Linked DNA regions of Homo sapiens: regions 2, 3 and 4 are each linked to region 1. Evidence: promoter capture Hi-C in 16 types of primary human blood cells and fetal thymus (Javierre and others, 2016). All regions are on one chromosome and are shown on one strand. The core of a region is centred on a gene start or on the middle of the fragment in contact, and the rest is flanking DNA. Distances in the headings are between cores, read along the strand shown.

Region 1 (6,043 bases), core at 1,840-4,339:
TGTCTCAAAAAGAAAAAAAGAATTGATGAAAAAAAGAAAAGAATTTGAGGTCAGGTGATGGCTGAAGCTGTACTTGGGGCTCACCAGGGAAGTTGGGGATTGTCCTGGGCGTCCCTGGAGCTGGTGGGGTGCTCTGGCCCTCAGTCTGATCTTAAGGTCTTCATGGCCGGGCCACAGCAGCCTTTGCAGCCCAGGTGCCTGTACCCCTCTCACTCCAGCCTGGCATCCTGGCCCTTCTTCATCTAACATGACTTATCTGGGTCCACAGGGTGGCCTTCATCTCCCCCCATCTTCCTGCAATGTACCCTCTCTTCAAAAATCTCTGCAGAAATCTCCCTCTCTGGGTGCCCATTGTTAGGATGGCCTGGCCCCATTCACACAGACTTCCTGGGGCTCACAGTGACGCTTCCTCATCACCTCCTGCCCTGATGGGACCTCCACAAGCAGAGGCTGTAGCATCTTCCCCTGTAGCACCTACCCAAAGCCCCGAGGATGGGCACAGGTCTGACCACGGCTGATGTGGATATTTGTGGGGGCCCTGGGAGCATGGAAAGCTTGGGTGATGGGGATGATGGGGATGGAGATTTGGTCTATTCCCCCCCACCTTCTAACATAATGCGTGCTTATTTATTGAATTTGTTGCTTGTCTATCTCCTAGGATGTAAACTCTGAAAAGGCAGGATTTTGGCTTTTTATGTTCACTGGTGTCTCTCTAATGCCTAACACGGTGCCTGGCATGTAGAAGGTGCTCAAGAAATATCTTGAGTGAAAGAATGATTGAATGAATGATGGTGGGTAGGAAGAAGAGAGGAGGTGGGGAGTAGAGAGATGAGTGGGGGTGGATGGAATGAGAGGAAGGCGGATGGGAGGGAGGCACAGACTGGCATTTGCTGAATATCTATTATAGGCCAGCCTTATGCTGTAGTGCTTTACTATAGATTACCTGAGGTGAAATATGTAAAGTGCATTGGTTATTGCTATGCCAGGCACTGTACTATGAACTTTACATGGATTTTCTCATTTAATCCACTCAACCACCCCTTGAAGTGGGTATGGCTATTTTCCTCGTGTTACAGATGAGGAAATGTACTGGGTGAAGTGCTTTGTCTGACATGTTAGAGCTGGGATGGGAACCCTAGTCGGAGCCTAAACCCAGGAAAGAAAAAACTGGAAGGACAGGTAAGGAGGGAATGGGGTGCGTGTGGGTGATTCCGTGGTCTTAGTTTGAGAATCCTTGCAGGGAGAAGGCTACATGGAGATCGGTGTGGGATTCATCCACCGACCCGCAGAAACCTACCCTCCAACGCTCCCCGCAGGCTCCGCTCCGTGGCCCCACCTCCTGAGGCCCCGCCCTAGGAACCTCACCTCTCGAAGCCCCACCTCCCCGAGGCCCTCCCCTCTTGTCCCGTCCCACTCACCTGCCTCCTGGACGTCTCCCCAGCCGGTGGCCCAGCAGGCGGTGCCGTGCACGAAGCGGTGTGAGGCGCGGGGCAGGCAGACAGGCCACACGGCGGGGCCCAGGCTGGCGGGTGAGGCCAGGCGCAGCAGGGCCAGGTCGGCGCCCAGCTCCACTTGGCTGTAGTTGGCCGGCACCACGATGGCGGCCACTGCGCGGGTGTGCGCGCCGTCCAGGGGCCCGTCCTGGGAGTGCACGCCCAGCAGTACCGACCACTCGGCCGCGGGCTCCAGCGTCCCATTCCTGCGCTCGACCGGGGCAGTAGGAGGTTAGGTTGACCCTATGGAGGGGGCAGACCCTCGTTGGGGGCAGGGGCTCAGAGCCAGAGGGGCAGGTGCTATCCGATCCAGATTTGGTGCTGATACTCCTCAAAGGGGAAGAGCAAATCCGATTTGGAGCTGGTGGTGGGGGGGTCATTGGAAAGATGGGATTCAGACCCGGATATTGAGTGGAGTGGTGGGACCAGTCCGGCAGCCTTGCCCCACTCGGAACCATGATGCCTCGAATAGCACCTCGCTTTGGGGACAGCTTGGCTCCAAATTATCCTTGAGGACGGAAGTGGGGCGGGAGGAGGGGACCAACTGCGGGGGCGGGGGCCAGCTTTTGGCGGAGAGGGGCCAGGACCAGGGCGAATACTCACGTCATGAAACAGTGAGCAGCGGAGAGGACCCAGGAGGGGGCGATGAGGGAGCCCCCGCAGATGTGGCCACCTCCATGGTGCAGGCTCACTTGCCAAGGCCAGGTGCCCGGCTGCGCGTTTGAGCCCCCCACGATGCGGGCCGAGGGCTCAGGGCGCCCGCAGTCTGCAACGGGGAGCCGTGGAAGCCAAAGCTCCCCTCGGGTTCCCCACTCCAGAAGCCCAGGTAACTCAGGACGAAGGCCCGTCCTCCACCCACTTCAGTTTGCCCCTCTGAACAAAGAACATAGAGGACCCAGGCTTGTCTACATTTCTGGTCTTTTCCACCTCCCTCATGGCCTGACCAGCCTTAGCCTCCTTTAAGGTCTGAGGGTGCCAAGGCCTCTTCCTTACCCAGATCTTCAGGTTCTTCCTGGGTAGGACTGAGAGCTGGGAGCCAGAGGGGAAAGAGAGGAGGACACTTGTGACTTCCAGGCCTGCACCGCCCAGCCCCACTTCCTGCTCTCCAACCCCCGACCCTATCTTCCCACTTCCCTGTCCGTTCAGCAACCCCTGCCAGCACCCATGCCAGTCCTCTGGTCTTTTCTGCCTCTGCACGTGACTTTCCCCCAGTCCGGCTACCTTACCTGAGTCCTGGAAGGCTCCTGGGATGGGACTGATGACTGGAAAGACAGAGGTAGGCAGGAAGAGGCTGGCGACTCGCACTCAGTATGTGCCCTCCCTGACTCCCTCCCCCAGCCTCCTAGCCTCCGTCTCCCCAGGGCACCCAGGCCTCCCTCTCCCTCCTCTGATACATCCTCGCCTTCTGCTGCCTCACTTCCTTCTCTCTGACTTCCTGCTCCCCACACAGAAACCAGGAATCCTGCTCTCCAGCCCCCCAGATGCCAGGACCCAGGCCCTTTGCAGCCACTCTTGTCCCCTGAGGTTACCAAGCATCACAAGGGGGAGGAGCAGGTGCCGGGCCATGGCGCTAGAGTCAGCGGAGGCAGAGCCAAGTGAAGGTCTGCTCCCTGCAGGGCTCTGTCACTGCCCAGGCAGCCCGTGACTCCTGATGGTCCCAGGGGCAGCCCCACCCTCCCTGGCTGGAGCCCATCTCTGGGAATCTGAGAGGATCTGGGGCTGGAAGGGGGAAGCTGGGGAGCCTGAAGGCCCCACCCAGAGCCCTGCGCACATCTCATGTCTCTGGAGGCCCAGGGTGGGGGTGGAGGACAGGTGTCCTAGCTCCTGGACACCTGTTGGGTGGGAGAGGGAGGGATGAAAAACACTGCAGGCAAAGGTCAAAGAGGAGGACAGTGTTCTGTGTCCTTGGTGAGCAGTGGCCCTTAGGACAGGGGAAGTGGCCCCTCACGGGCATGACTCATCGGAGACCTCACCTCTGTTTGGGGTGCGGCTGCCCCAGTGGCTTGGCCTTTTCTTCTCACACAGCTCTGGTTACTGGAGCTGCTGGCCAGGTCTGGGACAGGAGCCCTAGGGAATTCAATCCCATCCCAACAAAAGGATCACAGATTCCAGCAGGTTGGGCAGGGCATAGGGACCCTGGGAGGGGGCTGGGCAGGCTGGCGAGGCTGAAAAAGCCTCCACCCTGCTCTGTGTTCCAGTGACAATGCTCTTAGCTGCCCTGTCACTTACTCTGTGTGACTTTGGGAAAGTAACCCAACCTCTTGGTGTGTATCAGTAAGAGCCAGTTTAAGGGACATATGACTTGGCCGAGCACGGTGGCTCACTCCTGTGATCCTAACACTCTGGGAGACTGAGGTGGGAGGATTGCTTGAGGCTAGGAGTTCAAGACCAGCCTGGTCAACATAGCAAGACCCCATCTCTACAAAAAATTAAAAAATACAAAAATTATGAACTGCAGGGCGTGGTGGTGCACGTCTGTATCCCAGCTACTCGGGAGATGAGGTGGGAGGATTGCTTGAGCCTGGGAGGTCGAGGTTGCAGTGAGCTATGATTGTGCCACTGCACTCCAGCCTGGGTGACAAAGCGAGACCCTGTCTCAACAACAACAACAAAAAGAAAAAAAAAAAGAAGAATAAGAAGAAGAAAGAAACATATGGCTCTTCAAAGAGGAGTTGAAGAGAGTTTAAGGAAGAAACTATTTATAGAAGTGTAGGCAGGGTCAAAGGAAACCAAAGAGGCTGGGTGGCTCACGGCTGTAATCCCAGCACTTTGGTAGGCCGAGGCGGGCAGATCACCTGAGGTCAGGAGTTCAAGACCAGCCTGGCTAACTTGGAGAAGCCCCATCTATACTAAAAATACAAAAATTAGCCGAGTGTGGTGGAACTCACCTGTAATCCCACCTATTAGGGAGGCTGAGGCAGATAAAAATGCTTGAACCCAGGACGTGGAGGTTGCAGTGAGCCAAGATAGCGCCGTTGCACTCTAGCCTGGGTGACAAGAGCGAACTCCGTCTCACAAAAAAAAAAAAAAAAAGGAAACCAAAGAGGGATGGTAACGCATCCTGGGGCCAGCAATAATAGAGAGCCCTTGCTACCTGCTGGCCTGAAGAGGCAGAGAGGGGGCAGTTACTGGAACCCAGCAAGAGCTGCAGCTATGGAAGAGATAGCTGTTAGGAGCCGTGGCCTTCAATAGAGAAATGCAGCCTTTACCAGCAGAGAGGGAGTGGGGAAAGAAAAATCCCCATCTCACTCTCATCTCATCCTCTCTATTTTTAATTAAACCAATTAAAAAATTTTAGAGACACGGTCTCACTCTGTCACCCAGGCTGGAGTGCAGTGCTGTGATTATAGCTCACTGTAACCTCGAATTCCTGGGCTTAAGCGATCCTCTGGCCTCAGCCTCCTGAGAAGCTGGGACTACAGGCACGCACCACCATACCCAGCTAATGTTTTTTATTTTTGTAGAGATGGGGTCTTATTATGTTGCCCAGGCTGGTCTCAAACTCCTGTCTCAAGCGATCTTGCTGCCTCAGTCTTCCAAAAGTGCTGGGATCCTCCCATCCTCTGATCACCCCCTGGCTCTTTTCATTGAAACCTCCCAGAGGCCAGAGTTCAAGGGAGACCATTATATGGTCCATAAAGGTCACTCTTAGGGAACAAATCAGGGTGGACAGCAGAAATGCAGGGTCAACCCAGGAATATTTACACATGTGTATCTATCTTCTTACTGATAATATCAATTAATAATAATATTGGTCTATGAGTCTAGTTGCCCTAGAAAACAGGCCTAGGCAAAGCCTGCATGCTTGTGCTTAATTGGGAGGTGCAATCCCAGGGTGGCAAGATTGAGGGAAAATGAGAAGTGAGCAGGAAGAGGGAAAATGCAAATTCAGCCACCCAGCAACGGACTGGGCTCAATTGATAAACCTGCTAGCCTTAGCCTGTCCACAGGAAACGATGGAGGTAAATTGAGTCTTAACTTCAGATTTCTTAACAATGAGAGCCTCCTCAGGCATTTGTTTAACTTGCTGCTTGGGTAGCTATTTGCCCTTCAAAGGATAAATAACCAATCATTTAACCAAAACTCAGAAAAATGAGGTAATGGGCAAAGGTAGGAAAGAAGAGAGTGCAAGTGTCATTGACGCAAAACATGCACGCCCTGGAGACCCTCACCGATACATTGCTTGCTCCAATTTAGTGGTTAATAAACATTTTGGAGCTGGGCGCGGTGGCTCATGCTGGTAATCCCAGCACTTTGGGAGGCCGAGGCAGGTGGATCATGAGGTCAGGAGTTCAAGACCAGCAGCCTGGCCAACATGGTAAAACCCTATCTCTACTCAAAATTAAAAAATTAGCTGGGCATGGTGGCATGTGCCTGTAATCCCAGCTACTCAGGAGGCTGAGACAGGAGAATGGCTTGAACCCAGGAGGCGGAGGTTGTGCTCAGCTGAAATCGCACCACTGCACTCCAGGCTGGGTGATAGAGTGAGACTCTGTCTCGAAATAAATAAATAAATAAATAAAATTTTGGGGCCAGGTGCAGTGGCTCAA
Region 2 (6,043 bases), core at 2,264-4,763, 360 kb after region 1:
CTAGGGCGGTGCAGGATGTGTCTTGTTAACAATATGTTTACAGGCAGTATGCTTCATAAAAGTCATTGCCATTCTCCATTCTCGATTAACCAGGGGCACAATGCACTGTGGAAAGCCACAGGGACCTCTGCCCAAGAAAGCCTGGATACTGTCCAAGGCTTCCCCCTACTGAGACAGCCTGAGATGTGGCCTCGTGGGAAGGAAAAGACCTGACTGTTCCCCAGCCCGACACCTGTAAAGGGTCTGTGCTGAGGAGGATTAGGAGAGATATGCTGGCGGCAATGCTGCTCTGCTACTCTGCTACACTGAGATGTCTGGGTGGAGAGAAGCATAAGTCTGGCCTACGTGCACATCCGGGCACAGTACCTTCCCTTGAACTTATTTGTGACAGATTCCTTTGCTCGCATGTTTTCCTGCTGACCTTCTCCCCACTATCACCCTGTTCTCCTGCCGCATTCCCCTTGCCGAGATAGTGAAAATAGTAATCAATACTGAGGGAATTCAGAGACCAGTGCTGGTGCTGGTCCTCCGCATGCTGAGTGCCGGTCCCCTGGGCCCACTGTTCTTTCTCTATACTCTGTCTCTGTGTCTTATTTCTTTTCTCAGTCTCTCGTCCCACCTGATGAGAAATACCCACAGTGTGGAAGGGCTGGCCTCCTTCAGTTCTGAATCAAGGCAATCATGGTAACAGTGACAATGAAGAGGATACTGTTACCACTACAGAAAAAGTGCCTATAGACAGCACGGTGAGGATGTGGGAGGGGATTACTGTGGCACTAGAGCAGCATACATTCATAACGGAACAAGAAATCAGGCAGTTTATAGAATCCAAGAGAGACTTCTAAGATAGAAACCACAGTTAATGAGGCAAATGACTCTGGAGGAAACATTTTAAAAAGCCATCCAGCAGAACACTTCCTCATCCCTAGAGGACCCGCTTCCTGTCCTTCAACTGCTTCTAATGTTTCTTCTCACCTTAAAAAAATAAAATATGGTGTCCAGTAACCTTTTCACCAAAACAGCTGAAGACTGACAGCCTGCCGTTTTTGTTGCTGCTGCTATGGTTCAGAAGCTGATACAGGTGTTCTGGTGATCTGCTGTGCTGCTTAGTTACCCTGAACACACAATTTCTCACTGTATTAGTGGTATATCATGTTTTATACTGTTAAGTACTTCTGTGTGAATAGGTATAAGAAAATGACTGCTTCTTGGTAGCATATACATTCAGAGTCAGGAACGATGGGGACGCTAACCAACCAGATTGTCCACGTGTGGCTGAGACAGTGACATCTTTGCTTTCTGATGGATCAATGAACACAAACTTTGTTTCATGCACACCATTGAAAATACTGTATAAAACTGCCTTTAAGGTATGTGTATAAAGTATATATGAAACATAAACGAATTTCATGTTTAGACTTGAGTCTGATCCCCAACAAATCTCATTATATACATGAAGATATTCCAAAATCCAAAAAAAATTCCAAAATCCAAAACACTTCTGGTTGCAAGCATTTTGGATAAGGGATATTCAATCTGTATAGGCAACATGTTGGTGACATCACATGAAAACAAAAACTACTGACCCAAGCTCCAAATGCATTCCAAAAATACGGCCAACAAGCCGGGCGCAGTGGCTCACGCCTATAATCCCAGCACTTTGGGAAGCTGAGGCGAATGGATCACCCGAAGTCAGGAGTTCGAGACCAGCCTGGCCAACATGGTGAAACTCTGTCTCTACTAAAAATACAAAAAATTAGCGGGGCAGGGTGGCACATGCCTGTAATCCCAGCTACTTGGGAAGCTGAGGCAGGAGAATCGCTTGAACCCGGGAGGAGGAGGCTGCAGTGAGCTGAGATTGTGCCACTGCACTCCTGCATCCCAGCCTGGGTGACAGTGAGACTACGAGTCTGGAAAAAAAAAAATAGAGATGGGGGTCTCCCTATGTTGCCCAGGATGCCTCAGCCTCCCAAAGTACGAGGATTAAAGGCGTGAGCCACCGTGCCCGGCCCAGTTTTCTCAGTCTTAATGGTAAAGGTGTAAACAGGAAGCTCCTGTTTTCTCAAAAAAATCCAGAGAGGCTCACAAGGGATGTGGCCAGACTGATGCTACGAATGGAAAGCGCTTTTCCTTAGATCTATTAGGTTGGCTCAAATGTAATTGCGGGTTTTCCATTACCTTTAATGGCAATAACGACAAAGAAACCCCGCAATTACTTTTGCACCAGCCTAATAAATATCCCCTGCGAGCAGTAGTGAAAGACAAAGGACAGTGGCAAAAGCCATGGGGCCTCCTCGTGTAGAACATGTAACAATTTCCCTTTTCTGTTCTATTTCCCTCTCTGGGTGGCATGGTACCAAACTGTATTTTTTTTCCTTAAACAATTTTTTAAAAGCTGTACATATTCAGCAGATAGTCACTCTATTATTTACAGCATCATCTGGTATCCCAGAGCATACACAATACCTTCCATTCTTTCCAGGCTCTCCTCTCTCCTTCTCAGGACCAACTATATCTTTTTTTTCTGGAGCTCACCAATTTCCCCTATCCTGGGCAGCTGGCAGTTTTATTCCATCAATTGCATTCTTATGCAATCTTCCACAAAGAGAATAGGGATAAAGGGGAGGGGACGGGATTTGGGATCCAGATGATTGAGACTCAGAAGTCTGTGTGGGGAATGGAGTGCGGCTGCTAGGCTGGTGAGTGGGATGAGGGTCTTCCAGATGTGGGAAGTAAGACTGGGTTACAAAGCACCACTCTAATCACTGGGGAGACCTGCCTGAATTCTACCTAATGGGGCACGAGTCCATACATATATACACATAAGAGCCCAGCGAAAGCAGGGCTGAAAGCAGCAATACGTGAGGCTCCAGGGGTGCAGCTCACCTTTCACGAGCCAGGTGGCCGTGGCAGCTGAAACAGTGGCTTTTGCGTTCCCCACCCCTATGCCCAGCAAGACTGCCTGGGTGGCTAGGGAGCCGGAGAGGCTGGAAGCAAACGCCTGGAGAAGAAAACAAGTAGGGTGAGAAGCGGGCGTAGGAGCGTGGCGGTCTAAGTGCCTTCATCTGTTCTTGTTCTTGGTGTATGAGGCATGTCAGACCCCCCGCCCCCCGGGCTCCGAGTCTCAGTCACCCGTCCATTATTGGGGAGGGAGGAGTGGCCTGCACTGTCCTCTGCCCCAGACGACCGAGCTGACCTGCACGGAATCCCACAGCTGGTAGGGCAAGTAGTCCGGGCTGACGCTATCAGGGAAGCCCTGAGGCAGGAACACGGCCTGGAGCCCGGAGAGGGGCGGTGAGGGGGCCCCGGAAGCCCCCACTTCGCCCGCATCTCGTCCTTCAGGTTTGACCGTGAAGGCCCTGGAGAGCCCCCACCAGCGCCAGCCCCCGACCTCCCACTGCAGGCTCCCGTCCGCGGCGGCGCGGCAGCCCCGTGCCTCCCCGGAGCCGAACTGCTCGGAACACAGCGGGGTCTCCAAACCCGCGTCGTCAGCCATGCCGAGCTTTTGGATCCCAGCCCCGCCCCTGCCGCACGGTGGACGTGGCAGGCGGCACTTCCGGCTGGGCTACCGCGGCTGCAGAGGGACATCTTTCAAGAACAGGCGCCGGCCTCGGCGTCCGCCGCGCAGTTAGGAAACTGACTGTCGCTCTCTCCGGCCTCGGCGCTGCTTCGGACGCCCCGGCACCGGCCCCCGTTGCTTTGTAGCATTCTGCAGCTGGGCTGCAGGCGCCGTGGGCCTCCGCCAGTTGTGTTCGAGACGCGGTTCGGCCACAGAAGTTTTAGCTTGTGACTTTTGGCAAGTCAGTGGCCCTCTCTGGGCCTCAGGTGCCTTTTTTGCTGTGAGACCAGCGACTGTATTTTTAACCCTGATTTTATCCCTAGATCTACCCAACACATAGTAGGTGCTCAAAAGATATTTATGAGTGAATGAATGCATCATGAGAAGAAATTGGACCAGATGAGGCCCTGTGAAGCTGCTTGGGTCTTTTTTTGTTCTTTTTTTTTTCTCTCTTCTGAGTGTCCCTGGCCTGGACTAGAAATTCTCCATCCTTCGGCCTTCTGCGAGACTGCAGGAACATTACTTTTGAAGGATGCTAAGGAATCCGAGGGATGAAAAAAATCAAGAGATTGCAATGATGTCACAAAACAAGGAAACAAGGCAGGAAGTTCTTGTGTGTTTTTTTGCGGGAGAGAGTCCATGAAATTGGGGGGAGTCCAAAGAGGGAGTGTTTCTGTCCTTGGAACTCACCTTTTCTTCTTTCCATTTCTCCTCTTCTCCTTCCCATCTAGTGCAGCATCTTCACTCCGAAGCAGAAATTTGCCAAAAAAGCATCCTCTTTTTATCAGAAAATAAAATATCCTGGTTTCTTAGCCTGGCATTCTTGGATCCCCACAGTTTGATCCCAACCGACAACTCCTTATTTGAAACTTCAGATTCTCCCAAACCGTCACCTTCCTCGTGGACTTAATCCTGGAAGGCCCTTCTACCCCACTTCGCCTTATCTCACACAAACACAGTCTCTCTCTGACTGAGATAAACTTGAACACTTCTTTTCTTTTCTTTTTTTTTTTCTTTAAATTTCGGGTTTCAAAATACAAATGGCCTAATCACAACATTTCTGTAATGTTGTCTAAATTCAGGTACTGGTTTGAATAGAGGACAAAAATAAAACAAGGTTTGAAGACTAAGTACTTTAAAAACATATTTATTTAAATAGAGGCAGGGCCTCCCTATGTTGCCCAGGCTGCTCTCAAACTCCTGGCCTCAAAAGTGATCCTTGGGCTGGGCGTGGTGGCTCACGCCTGTAATTCCAGCACTTTGGGAAGTCGAGCCAGGTGGATCACTTGAGGTCAGGAGTTTAAGACCAGCCTGGCCAACATGTTGAAACCCCATCTCTACTAAAAATACAAAAATTAGCTGGGCGTGGGGGTGGTGTGGCCATAATCCCAGCTATCCGGGAGGCGGAGGCAAGAAAATCGCTTGAACCGTGCAGTTGTCATTAACTCCGTGTTTGTTATCTCTTTTTTACCAATGGTTTGCCAGTTTCTTCTACAAATACCTGTTGCTACCTATGTGCTCATTGGGATAGTGAGCAAAAACAAACAAGGGTCTTGGTCTTTTGGAACTTATATTAGGGAAGGATATTGATCAAATCATACAAATAAATGCAAAGTTGGAACTATTTCAATTGCTGTAGAGGGGTACATGTTATTTAATATGAGGACTTTTAGAAGGAGAATTGAGCTAATCAGTGGAATCAAGGGAAACTTTTTTTTTTGAGATGGAGTCTCCCTCTGTCACCCAGGCTGGAGTGCAGTGGCACAGTCTTGGCTTACTGCAACCTCCACCTCCTGGGTTCAAGTGATTCACCTGCCTCACCCTCCGGAGTAGCTGGGGTTACAAGCATTCACCACCACACCCAGCTAATTTTTGTATTTTTAGTAGAGACGGGGTTTTGCCATGTTGGCCAGGCTGGTCTTGAACTCCTGGCCTCAACTCATCTGCTTGCCTCGCCTCCCAAAGTGCTGGGATTACAGGCATGAGCCACTGTGCCCGGCCAAGGGAAATTTTTTAACAAAAATTTAAGTTGGGGTCTCTCTGTGTTGCCCAGGCCTCCCGCCTCGGTCTTCCAAAATGCTAGGATTATAGGCATGAGCCGTTGAGGCCAGCTGGGAAACTTTTTTTTTGAGGAAGTGTGTATTTAGCTGAGATCTAGAGTAAGAGTTAACTTGATTATGATGGGAAAATAATTTTCTGGAAAGAAGGAGCAGCATGTCCTGAGTGGGGAGGGAGCATGGTACCTAACATCCAACAAAGGCCGGTGCAGCAGAAGTCTAGAGCACGAGGGGCATGGGGAAAGGGCTGCTAGGGAGTTAGGGGCCAAACTGCAGGACATTGTAGGCCAAGCTCTTCTTCATCCTTAGGGTTAAGATTTATTTTTTATTCTATCAGTCAATCAATCAATCGATCGATGAGACAGGGTCTTGCTCTGTCACCCAGGCTGGAGTGCAGTGGTGCAATCATAGCTCACTGCAGCCTCAA
Region 3 (6,043 bases), core at 1,980-4,479, 300 kb after region 1:
CCAAGAGGAGTGCTGGCAATTAAGAGAGCTGGGGCCAGGTGGGGTGGCTCACACATGTAATCCAGCACTTTGAGAGGCCAAGGTGGGAGGATCCCTCGAGCCTAGGAGTTCGAGACCAGCCTGGGCAACATAACAAGACCTTGCCTCTATTTATAAATTCAATTTATTATTATTTTTTTTAAAAAAGGGAGAGAACTGCGAGGAAATAAAAAGAGAAAGGGCCAAGGCCAGGTGCACTGGCTCACACCTGTAATCCCAGCACTTTGGGAGGCCGAGGCAGGCGGATCACGAGGTCAGGAGATCGAGACCATCCTGGCTAACACGGTGAAACCCCGTCTCTACTAAAAATACCAACAAAACAAAACAAAACAAAACAAAACAAAAAAAAACTAGCCTGGTATGGTGGCATGCGCCTGTGGTCCCAGCTACTCAGGAGGGTAAGGCAGGAGAATCGCTTGATCCCAGGAGGTAGAAGTTGCAGTGAGCTGAGATCGCGCCACTGCTCTCCAGCCTAGGCGACAGAGCGAGATTCCATCTCAAAAAAAAAAAAAAAAAAAAAAAAGAGAGAGAGAAAAGGCCAAATATTTCAATTCTAAGGTTTGGAATTTTTTTGTTGTTGTTCTTTTTTATTTTAAGGGGAAAATGTTGAAGCAATTTAAAAGTGTACTGCAGGAGAATAAATATAGCGATATTGTTACCAAAAAAATCCAAAAACCAAAAACCCAAAACCCAAGAACAAAACCTTCCCAAGGTGCTGACAAAGCCCCGAATCTCCAGGCTGCAAACATTCTCCTGGCTGCTCATTTGTGAGGATCCAGTGACCTGTGTCCACTGCTGGGAAGCGAAGGCATCTGCTGGTGTGGTGCAGCCATGCTGGGGGCATGGCGAGGCCTGTGGATGCAGTTCTCTGCGCTCTGCCCTGTGCTCTCTCTGACGTCTTCCACATCCCCACCTCTTCACCCTCTCCGGGGCTTTCTTCTCTACCCATCTAGGGACTACAGCCCAGAAAAATGCTACCACACCACACATTGCATTTAGTTGTCACGACTCTCTAGTCCCCATTATTCCAGAGCATCACCTCAATCATTTCTTGATTCTGATTACCTTAAAACTGTTACACCTGTAGTCCCAGCACTTTGGGAGACTGAGGTGGGAGGATTGCTTGAGCCCAGGAGTTCAGGACCATCCTGGGCAACGTAGCAAGACCCGTCCCTACAAAAAAAAAAAATTAAAAATTAGCTGGGTGTGGTGGCATATGCCTGTAGTCCCAGCTACTTGGGAGGCTGACACAGGAGGATCACCTGAGCCCAGGAAGTCGAGGCTGCAGTGGGCTGTGGTCGCACCACTGCACCCCAGCCTGGGTGAGGGAGAGACCCTATCTCAAAAAACCATAAAAAGCTTTTTGTTATTGGGATGGCACTGCTCCAGGGCTTTCCAGAGCTAGGGAATATATGGACATTTACACACATCTGCGTGCACATACACATATACACACCCATACTAATTTCTATGTCTATCTAAACACTTTCTGAAAATCCTGAGTCTACTCCTATACCTCCAGTTCCAATTCGACACCACAAGGGTCTCCCCACCCACATTTTCTCCCTTTCCCGAGCTGTGTCTCGGTTTTCTCTGACACTGAGAAACCTGGCTGTTATCTTTCAAATGTGTACTTATTTGACCAATAGCTGGTGGAAGCAGTTTCTTATCTCTCTCGCCATCTCCTTCCCGTGGCTGATGCCTTCCTAATCCTATCAGGTTCTGCCATGCCAAGCCAGGCCACCTTCTCGTGTGGACACCCTCCCCCACCTGCTGGAGCTCTGATACATGCTCTGGCCTGCTGCGTCTCACTCCCCACACCCGGCAGAGGCCTCTTTGGCTCTGCCTGCCCCTAGAGGCTGTAAGACAGCATTGTTCAGGAAAGGGAGGAAAGGGAATGGGTGTAGGAAAGGAAGAGCGGATCTCCTTTGAAGAATTATCTTTAAAAAAAATTATTTTTTTAGAGACAGGGTCTCACTCTGTTGCCCAGGCTGGGGTGCAGTGGCACAATCCTAGCTCACTGCAGTCTCAAATTCCTGGGCTCAAGCGGTCCTCCTGCCTCAGCCTCCTGAATAGCTGGGACTACAGTGAACATCACCACACCTGGCTGGTTTTTTAATTTTTTCTAGAGATGGGGTTTGCTATGTTGCCCAGGCTAGTCTCGAACTCCTGGGCTCAAAGCATCCTCTCACCTCAGCCTCTCAAAGTGCTGGGATTATAGGTGTGAGCCACCGCCTTTTTTTTTTTTTCTGATTTACTATAATATTTCTAGTAAGCCATTGGCTTAGAAACCAGATTCACTAATTAATTCATTTACCCTTTCATGATACAAAATTTTTTAACTGAGTGAGGCCTTTCCTGAGAATTGAGCACATGAGCTTTGGTGCATGGACCTGGAAATCTCTGCTTCTTGAACTCCTAGGGGCTTCCTTTACTTCATTCACTCCTGGTGCTCAGCAAATTTCTGAATGGGGGAGGTTGGCCAGCCTGGGAGAGGTCACCCACGCCAGGAAGTCTCAGTACCTCTCTATTTATCCTATCACTTGGGAATCCTCTAGGATCTGTTTCAGGGAGTCTCTGGTTAGCCCTGAGACATAAGTGGTGCGGGTGAGACTCCTGGGGCCTATCTCAGAGGTCCTCACACCCCTGAGATTAAATCAGTCAGGAGGCAGGGTGGAGAGAGGAGTGTCCTATCAGGTCTGAGGAGGTTGTCAACTTCCTGGACTTCTTGCTAAGGACTCCTCTTCCCACCCTTCATGGGTAGCTGAGGTCAGGGAATCTGTAGGGACAAGACTTTCTTTTAAATGCTAATCTGCTGACTAACCCTGAGTCTGGGAATGCCTCCAAAATGTCAAGCTGATGTGTTTTTTTATTTTTTGGTTTTGTTTTTTTTGTTTTTTTTTTGAAACGGAGTCTCACTCTTTCATCCAAACTGGGGTGCAGTGGCACGATCTTGGCTCACTGAAACCTCCACCTCCTGGGTTCAAGCAATTTTCCTGCCTCAACCTCCCAAGTAGCTGGGATTACAGGCACGTGCCACCATGCCTGGCTAATTTTTATATTTTTGGTAGAGACAGGGTTTCACCACGTTGGGCAGCCTGGTCTCGAACTCCTGACCTCAGGTGATCTGCCCACCTCGGCCTCCCAAAGCGCTGGGAATACAGGCGTGAGCCACCGTACCAAGACATCCCACAGCACCAGCCTGTGTGTGTCTCGCCAGGCTCAGAGCTGGGAACCTGGAACCCAGGACTGGGTGAGCTCAGAGACATAACTGTGACTGTACTGGAGTCAGTCTTATGCCCAGAGCTAAGCAGAAGCAGGGCCAGCCCAGAGGAGACGATGTTACCGACTCCCACCCCGTCCTGTCTAGCGCTTAGAGTACCTCTGTACTGGCTTGCTTCCTACAGTTGCTCTGGGAGGAATGTGTGCCAGAGACCCTGACCTCTGACCCAGGCATGCAAGGGTCTGCCTTGCCTAGTTGAGCCTGTGCACTCTGTCTCTGCCTCCCTTCAGATAGGGAAAGGAGCTTCAAATTACGGGGTGATGTCATAGCACGGAGTGGAGATGGGGTGGCAGGGAGACAGGGAGGCTCAGGGAAGGAGGCCAGGTATTTCACAGAGGAGTTCTGGGGGAGAAGAAGGAAAACGGCAGAGAAGGGAACAGGAAGGGGTGAAGGAAAGGGGAAAAGTGCCTTCACTGCATGGAAAGGTCCTTCTCACCCACAGTGGGGTGGGATGGAGACTGTAACCTCAAGTACTTTTCTGCAGGGGACAGGCAAGTAACACATATGAAACGTGCTGAGTCAGGGATGCAAGAGGGAGTGTCCCTGTTCCTATGTCCAGGACAGCCACTACTCAACGAACTGCTGCCATAAAAATCCAATGTTGCAGCATCTTCTGATATAAATAATAAAGCAGGCCGGGTGTGGTGACTGACGCCTGTAATCCTACCACTTTCGGAAGCCGAGGTGGGTGGGGGAGGGAAGGGCCGGGGCAGGGGATCTTTTCTTTTTTTTTTTGAAACGGAGTCTTGCTCTGTCACCCAGGCTGGATTGCAGTGACAGGATCTCCGCCCACTGCAAGCTCTGCCTCCTGGGTTCATGCCATTCTCTTGCCTCAGCCTCTTGAGTAGCTGGAACTATAGGCGCCTGCCACCATTTCCAGCTAATTTTTTGTATTTTTAGTAGAGACAGGATTTCACCTTGTTAGCCAGGAAGGTCTCGATCTCCTGACCTCGTGATCCGCCCACCTAGGCCTCCCAAAGTGCTGGGATTACAGGCGTGAGCCACCGTGCCCGGCCAGGAGGGGATCATTTGAGCCTAGGAGTTCAAGACCAGTCTGCAACCTGGCAAGATCCTGTCTCAATTAAAAAAAAAAAAAAACAAAAAAAACAACAACAAACCAAGCCCCAGAAATCGACTGTGATGTGAAATCTCCTTATTTAAATGTTGGCTCTTTAAAAAAATAAAAAGACCAGGTTAGGTGGCTCACATCTGTAATCCCAGCATTTTGGGAGGCTGAGACCAGAGGAACACTTGAACTCAGGAGTTCAAGACCAGCCTGGGCAACACAGTGAGACCCCGTCTCTACAAAACATTTTTTAAAAATCAAAAAATTAGCCAGGTGTGGTGGTGTATGCCTGTAGTCCCAGCTCCTTGGGAGGTTAAGGTGGGAGGATCACTTGAGCCCAGGAGGTTGAGGCTACAGTGAGCCACAATTGCACCACTGCACTCCAGCCTGGATGACAGAGTGAGATTCTGTCTCAAAAATAAATAAATAAATAAATAAATAAATAAATGGGCATGGTAGCTCACACCTGTAATTCCAGCATTTTGGGAGGCTGAGGCAGGGGGATTGCTTGAGCCTGGAAGTTTCAGAGACCAGCCTGGGCAACAAAATGGAACTCAAAAAGTAAAAATCTTGGCTTGTTTGAAAACACACACACACACACACACACACACACACACACACACACACAGCCAAAACAAATGTGTTTCCCATCTCGGGCTTGGGCACTGGGTCACAAGCTTGGACAGTGAAGCTACTTCTAAACCCAGCACAGGGTACAGTGGATGCAGGACATGGGATAAACTCCTGTTAGATTAAGCCCGTCCCTCTGCTTCTGAGGTCTGGCCTGCCTCGCTGTTCTGGTCAGAACCTGTTTTATGCAATTGGAGAGGAGAGGGGTCCCAGGAGTATTAGCCCTAATGTGAGAAATTAGATTACAGGTCTCTGAAAGGGATTCTGCAAACCAATCCTCCTTCCAAGCCTACTCTACCCATACCTAATATTCTTAAGCAGTTATGAATTTTGCAGAGGTCTACAACACTTGACACTCACTCAAGGCAACTGTGAGGAAACTGAGGCTTAAAGGCCACTAGTAAGCAGTGTAAAAAGGACCTGATCATGACAATTATTCTTTGAGTGCCTACCATGCATGTGCTGGGCTCAGGCCCTTCACTCAAACCCTGGCTCGTACTCTCTGAAGGGTCCTGGGTGAGGAAGATGTCAAGAACCCCATACCTCATCACTGACTCCCTGCCGGGGGCATGTGCTGCTCCCAGCCTGAGATGAGTGCTGTTCATTACACGTCATCTCCATGAAGCCTCCCGCATTTGCTCCAGGAAAGGCCCGTTCGCCACCCTGGCGTCATTCACTCTGTGTTGCTGATATTGAGTCTGTTTCCTTCAAGGGGAAACAGGCTACCCAAGGACTGGGGCTGCTGCCTTCATTTCTGTAACCTCCGGGGGGAGCTCTTGTGTGAGCCGCATGATGGATGCTTGCTAACAGCTCTAGGCAGGAGGCAGAGGGAAACTGAGGTCTGCCGAGTCATCCCTGGCCCAGGTACTTCATGCGTGTGCAGTGTTGCTGTGGAATCTTTACCACAACCTCCCATCCCTGTTTTACAGATGAAGAAACAGGCTCAGAAGAGGCAGACGTGTCTAAGATCACACAAGCCTTGACACCATGAGCTAGAAGCTGAGGGTGAGGTCACTTCACATCCC
Region 4 (6,043 bases), core at 1,896-4,395, 280 kb before region 1:
CTACTAAAAATACAAAAAGTTAGCCAGGCGTGGTGGCAGGCAACTGTAGTCCCAGCTACTTGGGAGGCTGAGGCAGGAGAATCACTTGAACCTGGGAGGCGGAGCTTGCAGTGAGCCGAGATCACGTCACTGCACTCTATCCAGCCTGGGCAACGGAGCAAGACCTCCAACTCAAAAAAAAAAAAAAAAAAAAAGTACTTTGTAATACTCTCCCCACCCTTGAGAATGTACTTTGTATGCCTATTCCAAACCCATAAGAACTAATGATAATCCTACCACCCTTTGCTGACTCCTCTTTCGGACTCAGCCCACCTGCACCCAGGTGAAATAAACAGCCTTGTTGCTCACACAAAGCCTGTTTGCTGTTTGGTGGTATCTTCACCCGGAAGCGTGTGACAGTCTCTACCAAAAAAAAAATTTTTTTGAAAATTAGCCTGGCCTAGTGGTGTGCCTTTGTATTCCCAGCTACTTGGGTGGCTGAGGCAGAAGGATCCCTTGAGCTCTGGAGTTTGAGGTTGCAGTGAACTATGATTATGCCACTGCAGTCCAGCCCAGGTGACAGAATGAGATCTTGTATCTTTAAAAAATAAATGAATAAAAATAAAATAAAACACCAATTCAAGGTACTGGCAGTAGGACTCTAGGTGGCAGGAATAGTGTTACTCTCATTTTTCCTCATCTGTATTTCCTGACATTTTACCGTGCACATACATATGGCTTTTTTTTTCTTTTTTTTTTTTTTTTTGAGATGGAGTCTTGTTCTGTCACCCAGGCTGGAGTGCAGTGGCGTGATCTTGGCTCACTGCAACCTCCACCTCCCAGGTTCAAGCGATTCTCCTGCCTCAGCCTCCCTAGTAGCTGGGATTACAGGCGCCCGCCACAGTGCCCTAATTTTTTTTTTTTTTTTGTATTTTTAGTAGACACAGCGTTTCACTATGTTGGCTAAGCTTGTCTCGAACTCCTGACGTCAGGAGATCCATCTGCCTCAGCCTCCCAAAGTGGTGGTATTACAGGCGTGAGCCACCTCGCCCGGCCATATGGGTTTTATAACAACAACAAATCCTCATAATAGACGAGAACAAAAAATTGTAAACTATCTCAGTAATAAAACTCAAGGACTGGGGAGAGTGGGAGAGTTAGAAGCATGCTAAAGGCAGCGTCTTTCAGGGAGTGATGGAGGAGTTGGCAAGCATAATATTTTGATGGAGGAGGATTATTTACCATGTATCCATAGAGCAATTTAAGGATATGATTGTTAGGAAAGAAGATAAACACTAGCAGGTTAGCAAAGGGAAGGCTGGGTGCGGTGGTTCACGCCTGTAATTGCAGCACTTTGGTAGACTGAGGTGGGTGGATCACTTGAGGTCAGGAGTTTGAGACCAGCCTGGCGAACATGGTGAAACGCTGTCTCTACTAAAAATACAAAAATTAGCCAGGCGTGGTGGCACGCACCTGTAGTCCCAGCTACTCAGGGGGCTGAGGCATGACAATCGCCTGAACCTGGGTGGCAGAGGTTGCAGTGAGCCAAGATCGGGCCACTGCACTCCAGCCTGGCCAAAATAGCGAGACTGTCTGGAAAAAAAAAAAAAAGGTGGGGGGGTGGGAATTAACAGGAACTTGATGAAACCCACCAAAGTTAAAGAAAAAAAAAGGCACAGAGGAAAACATTAATGAAATGTAAATAGTAAATGTAAAATAAGGCGGAAAGAAAGTATATTGCTTATTGAAATAAATATGAACAGGCTGAATTAACCTATTATAAGTCAGAGGTTTGCTGGGCGTGCCGTCTCATGCCTGTAATGCCAGCACTTTGGGAAGCTGAGGTGGGAGGATTATATAAGGCCAAGAGTTCACGACCAGTCTGGGCAACATAATGAGATATCTTCTCTACAAAAAGTTTAAAAATCAGCTGAGCATGGTGGTGCACACCTGTAGTCCCAACTATCCAGAAGGCTGAGGCTGGAGGATCACTTGAGCCCAGGAGTTTGAGGCTACAGTGAGCTACAATTGTGCTACTGCACTCCATCCTGGATGACAGGGAGATACCCTGTCTCAAAAACAAACAAAAGTCAGAGCTTGTCAAACCAAATGACTTTTAAAATCTAGCCATATGCAATGTATAGGAAATGCACATAAAACAAAGTGACAAAAATGTTGAAAGTTAATAGATGGACAAAAAAATTCCAGGCCCAAAAAAACATGATTGGGGGAAGGTGGGTATCATTGAGATTCTGACCATGTTTATTTCTTGGTTTGGGTGGTGGTTATAAGGATATTTTGTTTTGTAATACTATCTTAGACTATTTTTCTATGAATATTTATGTATATGGATGTTTCATAAGTGGTAGGCAGAATAATGGCCATTATTCTGATGTCCTAAAATTCCCACACCCTAACCCCTGGAACATGTGAATGTCTTAGTTTACATGGTGAAGGGATTTTGCAGGTGTGATTAAGGACCTTGAGATGCGGGTGGTCTTGGATTATCCAGGGGGGCACAATGTAATCATGTTGGTCTTTAAAATCAGAGACTCGGCCATCCCAGCACTTTGGAAGGCCGAGGCAGGCAGATCACCTGAGGTCAGGAGTTCGAGACCAGCCTGGCCAACATGGTGAAACCCCATCTCTATTAAATATACACAAATTAGCCAGGCGTGGTGGCGCATGCCTGTAATCCCAGCTACTCAGGAGGCTGAGACAGGAGAATCGCTTGAACCCGGGAGGCGGAGGTTACAGTGAGCCAAGATCGCGCCACTGCACTCCGGCCTGGGCAACAGAGCAAGACTCCATCTCAAAAAGAAAAAAATAAAATAAAATCAGAGACTTATTTCTGATTTTGATCAGAGGGAGATGTGATTGTGGAAGAATGGTCAGAAATGCAGTGTGACTGACTCTGAAGATGGAGGGAGGGGCCTCTGGAAGCTGGAAGAGAGAGTGAAACAGACTGTCCCCTAGAGCCTCCAGGAGGGAACACAGCCCTGAAGACACCCTGATTTGATTTCATTTATTTATTATTTTTTGTTGTTGTTTTACAACAATCTCTTGTCCAACAGAAACACCTCGATTTTAGCCCAGTGAGACTCATGTCAGACTTCAGACCTACGGAATTGTAATATGATAAATCTGTGGGTTTTTTTTTTTTTTTTGAGACAGAGTCTTGCTCTGTCACCCAGGCTGGAATGCAGTGGTGCGATCTCAGCTCACTGCAACCTCTGCCTCCTGGGTTCAAGCGATTCTCCTGCCTCAGCCTCCCGAGTAGCTGGGACTACAGGCGTGTACCACCCGACCCGGCTAATTTTTTTTTTTTTTTTGTATTTTTAGTAGAGACAGGGTTTCACCATGTTAGCCAGGATGGTCTCCATCTCCTGACCTCCTGATCCGCCCACCTCGGCCTCCCAAAGTGCTGGGATTACAGGCGTGAGTCACCGCACCCCGCCAAATCTGTGTTGTTTTAAGCTACTAAATTTGCTGTAATTTGTTACAGCTATAGAAAACAATACAATAGGCCAGGCGCGGTGGCTCACGCCTGTAATCCCAGCACTTTGGGAGGCCGAGGTGGGCAGATCACCTGAGGTCGGGAGTTCGAGACCAGCCTGACCAACATGGAGAAACCTGGTCTCTACTAAAAATACAAAATTAGCCAGGTGTGGTGGCACGCGCCTGTGATCCCAGCTACTTGGGAGGCTGAGGCAGGAGAATCTCTTGATCCTGGGAGGTGGAGGTTGTGGTGAGCGGAGATTGCGCCATTGCACTCCAGCCTGGGCAACAAGAGCGAAACTCCATCTGAAACAAAACAAAAAACAACAGCAACAACAAAGAAAAAGAACAGAACGGAAAAGAAAAATAATACAACAGCAAAAAAAAAAGATTTAAAAAAAATTGGCCTGTTATGCCTCTGCTTTACCTCCCTTCTCAGCTTCCACATTACACTTTTAAAATGAATCTGTAATTTTTTCTTTTTTTTTGAACTCCTGACCTCAAATGATCCACCTGCCTCAGCCTCCCAAAATGTTGGGATTACAGGTGTGAGCCACCGCACCCAGCCATGAATCTAATTTTTTCATGGCCATGGCTTTGTGAGTCGACAGTTATGGGAAAGACAAAGTAGAAAGAGTGCCGAGCTTGAAGACTGGGGCCAGAGTCGTAGTTCCAGCTTTGCTGTGTCACTCGGGGCCTATCGCTTTCCCTCTCTGAGCCTATAGCCTTCATTATTTTATTTTGTTTTTTGCGACAGGGTCTCACTCTGTCACCCAGGCTGGAGTTCAGTGGCACGATCATGGCTCACTGCAGCCTCGACCTCCCAGGTTCCAGCAATCCTCCCACCTCAGCCTCCTGAGTAGCTGGGACTACAGGCGCCTGCCACTGTGCCCAGCTCATTTTTTTTTACTTTTTGTAGAGATGAGTTCTCACTATGTTGCTGGCCTCGAACTCCTAAGCTCTAGTGGATCTCCTGCCTCTGCCTCCCAAAGTGCTGGGATTACAGGTGTGAGCCACCACGCCTGGCTCTTTCTTTTTTTTTTTTTTTTTAAAGAGACGGGGTCTCGCTCTGTTGCCCAGGCTGGAGTGCAGTGTCACGATCAAAGCTACTGTAGCCTTGAAACTCCTGGGCTCAAGGCATCCTCCTGCCTTCGCCTGCAGTGTAGCTGGGACTACAAGTGAGGACAATCATGCCCGACTAATTTTTTTTATTTTTTGTAGAGATGGGGTCTCGCTATGGTGCCCAACCTGGTCTCCAACTCTTAGCCTCAAGCAATCCTCTCACACTGGCCTCCCAAAGTGCTGGGGTTACAGGCATGAGCCATGGTGCCTGGCCTTTTTCTGTCTTTTCTGAGTTCAGCATGGACCTAGCATAGAATGGCACCTCCATGATTGTTGAATGAGTAAACAAATTATTCCTTGCCCTTAAATTAGAAGATAGAATGAGGTGATATCTAAGAAAACTCTTCTCTAAAATTCTAGAAAAATAGAGTAGGGCAGCGGCTAAAAGCCTAGAATCCATGTGTATGAATACATGCATCTATCCATCTATCTCATATATCTATATATCTCACCTGTATCTCAATCTCTTAGCCCAGGGCCTGCCACCTTAGGAAGATGCAGTAAATGGGAGCCATTGTTACCATCACATTCCTGTTCCCCAGGGAGGCTCAAGGATTCTCATCTCCTTTTCCCCAAACTCCAAGCCCCTCAGCCCAGCTGCTGCTCTAGAAGCCTAGGCAGAAAATGGTTCCTTAGACCAGGCCTTACGACTCCTGGCCTGCCAAAGGAGTGAGACTTCTTTTTTATAAGAACACCCTTTTCATAGTGGTCTTTTAAGTTTCATTCTGAAGTTCCTAAAAAAAAGGAAGCTTGCTTTCATTAGAAAAATTGGGAAAAGAGGCCAGGTGCAGAGGCTCACACCTGTAATCCCAGCACACCTGTCTTCTCGGCCAAGGTGGGAGGATCACTTGAGCCCAGGAGTTTGAGACCAGTGTGGCCAACATAGTGAGACCCCGTCTTTACAAAAAAAATAAAAAATTAGCCGGGTGGGCTGGGTGCGGTGGCTCACGCCTGTAATCCCAGCTACTCAGGAAGATCAAGCAGGAGGATCGCTTGAGCCCAGGAGTTGGAGGCTGCAGTGAGCTGTACTCCAGCCTGAGTGACAGAGCAAGATCTTGTCCCCCCACCAAAAAATAAAATAAAATTAAATAAATAAATAAATAAACTGGGGAAAGAGATTTTATAGATAAAGTAGAGCCAGAGAGGGTAAGAGACTTGCTGGGGTACCACAGCCAAGCATCACCTCCCTCCCTTACATGACTCTCAACTCCAGAATGTCCCTAAGGAGTGGCCAGAGCAGTAGACTCAGGGATGGGCACCTGGGTTCCAATCCTTGTTGCTCCATTCACTAGCTGTGTGCCCCTGGGCAAGTCACTTCACTGTCCTAGAATTCAGTTGACTTATCTGTAATATTGGAAGAATAGCGCCTGGGAAGTAGCGAGGACCAGATAAATTGTAAATGTACCCAGCCCAGTGCTGACACATAGTAACTCGGTGGCAGTTG

What was found. The method cuts DNA at HindIII sites, captures the fragments that hold promoters and counts their contacts. A CHiCAGO score of 5 or more calls a contact.
Region 2: the fragment with the promoter of RUSF1 here is called in contact with the fragment with the promoter of PRSS36 in region 1 in 1 of 17 cell types (total CD4 T cells); the score reaches 5.3 in total CD4 T cells.
Region 3: a fragment that was not itself captured here is called in contact with the fragment with the promoter of PRSS36 in region 1 in 15 of 17 cell types (M0 macrophages, M2 macrophages, M1 macrophages and 12 more); the score reaches 15.9 in M0 macrophages.
Region 4: a contact is called between a fragment that was not itself captured here and the fragment with the promoter of PRSS36 in region 1, in 1 of 17 cell types (monocytes). The highest score is 7.4, in monocytes.

Annotation. Positions count from the first base shown.
Region 1 is chr16:31,146,977-31,153,019 of GRCh38, forward strand. PRSS36 (serine protease 36) reads right to left here and starts at 3,090. Exons shown (of 15, transcript NM_173502.5): 1 at 3,023-3,090; 2 at 2,720-2,755; 3 at 2,487-2,522; 4 at 2,097-2,259; 5 at 1,419-1,699. The coding sequence starts at 3,059. RefSeq lists enhancers at 1,724-2,261, 2,262-2,797, 2,798-3,334. The HindIII fragment of the contact is 9,446 bases long and covers 553-6,043 here.
Region 2 is chr16:31,504,878-31,510,920 of GRCh38, forward strand. It overlaps RUSF1 (RUS family member 1), which reads right to left and starts at 3,514. Exons shown (of 13, transcript NM_022744.4): 1 at 3,197-3,514; 2 at 2,887-3,001. The coding sequence starts at 3,496. RUSF1-DT (RUSF1 divergent transcript) reads left to right here and starts at 3,587. Exons shown (of 2, transcript NR_186401.1): 1 at 3,587-4,159; 2 at 4,296-4,689. RefSeq lists enhancers at 2,500-3,215, 3,216-3,930, 3,495-4,064 and silencers at 3,225-3,284, 3,345-3,394. The HindIII fragment of the contact is 29,640 bases long and covers 1-6,043 here.
Region 3 is chr16:31,450,070-31,456,112 of GRCh38, forward strand. No RefSeq gene overlaps it. Among named protein-coding and RNA genes, the nearest start is that of ARMC5, 6.4 kb to the right of the region's middle. RefSeq lists enhancers at 1,739-2,033, 2,614-3,386, 3,387-4,158. The HindIII fragment of the contact is 3,667 bases long and covers 1,397-5,063 here.
Region 4 is chr16:30,865,000-30,871,042 of GRCh38, forward strand. It overlaps a transcript of BCL7C not described here. Among named protein-coding and RNA genes, the nearest start is that of MIR4519, 7.3 kb to the right of the region's middle. The HindIII fragment of the contact is 4,401 bases long and covers 946-5,346 here.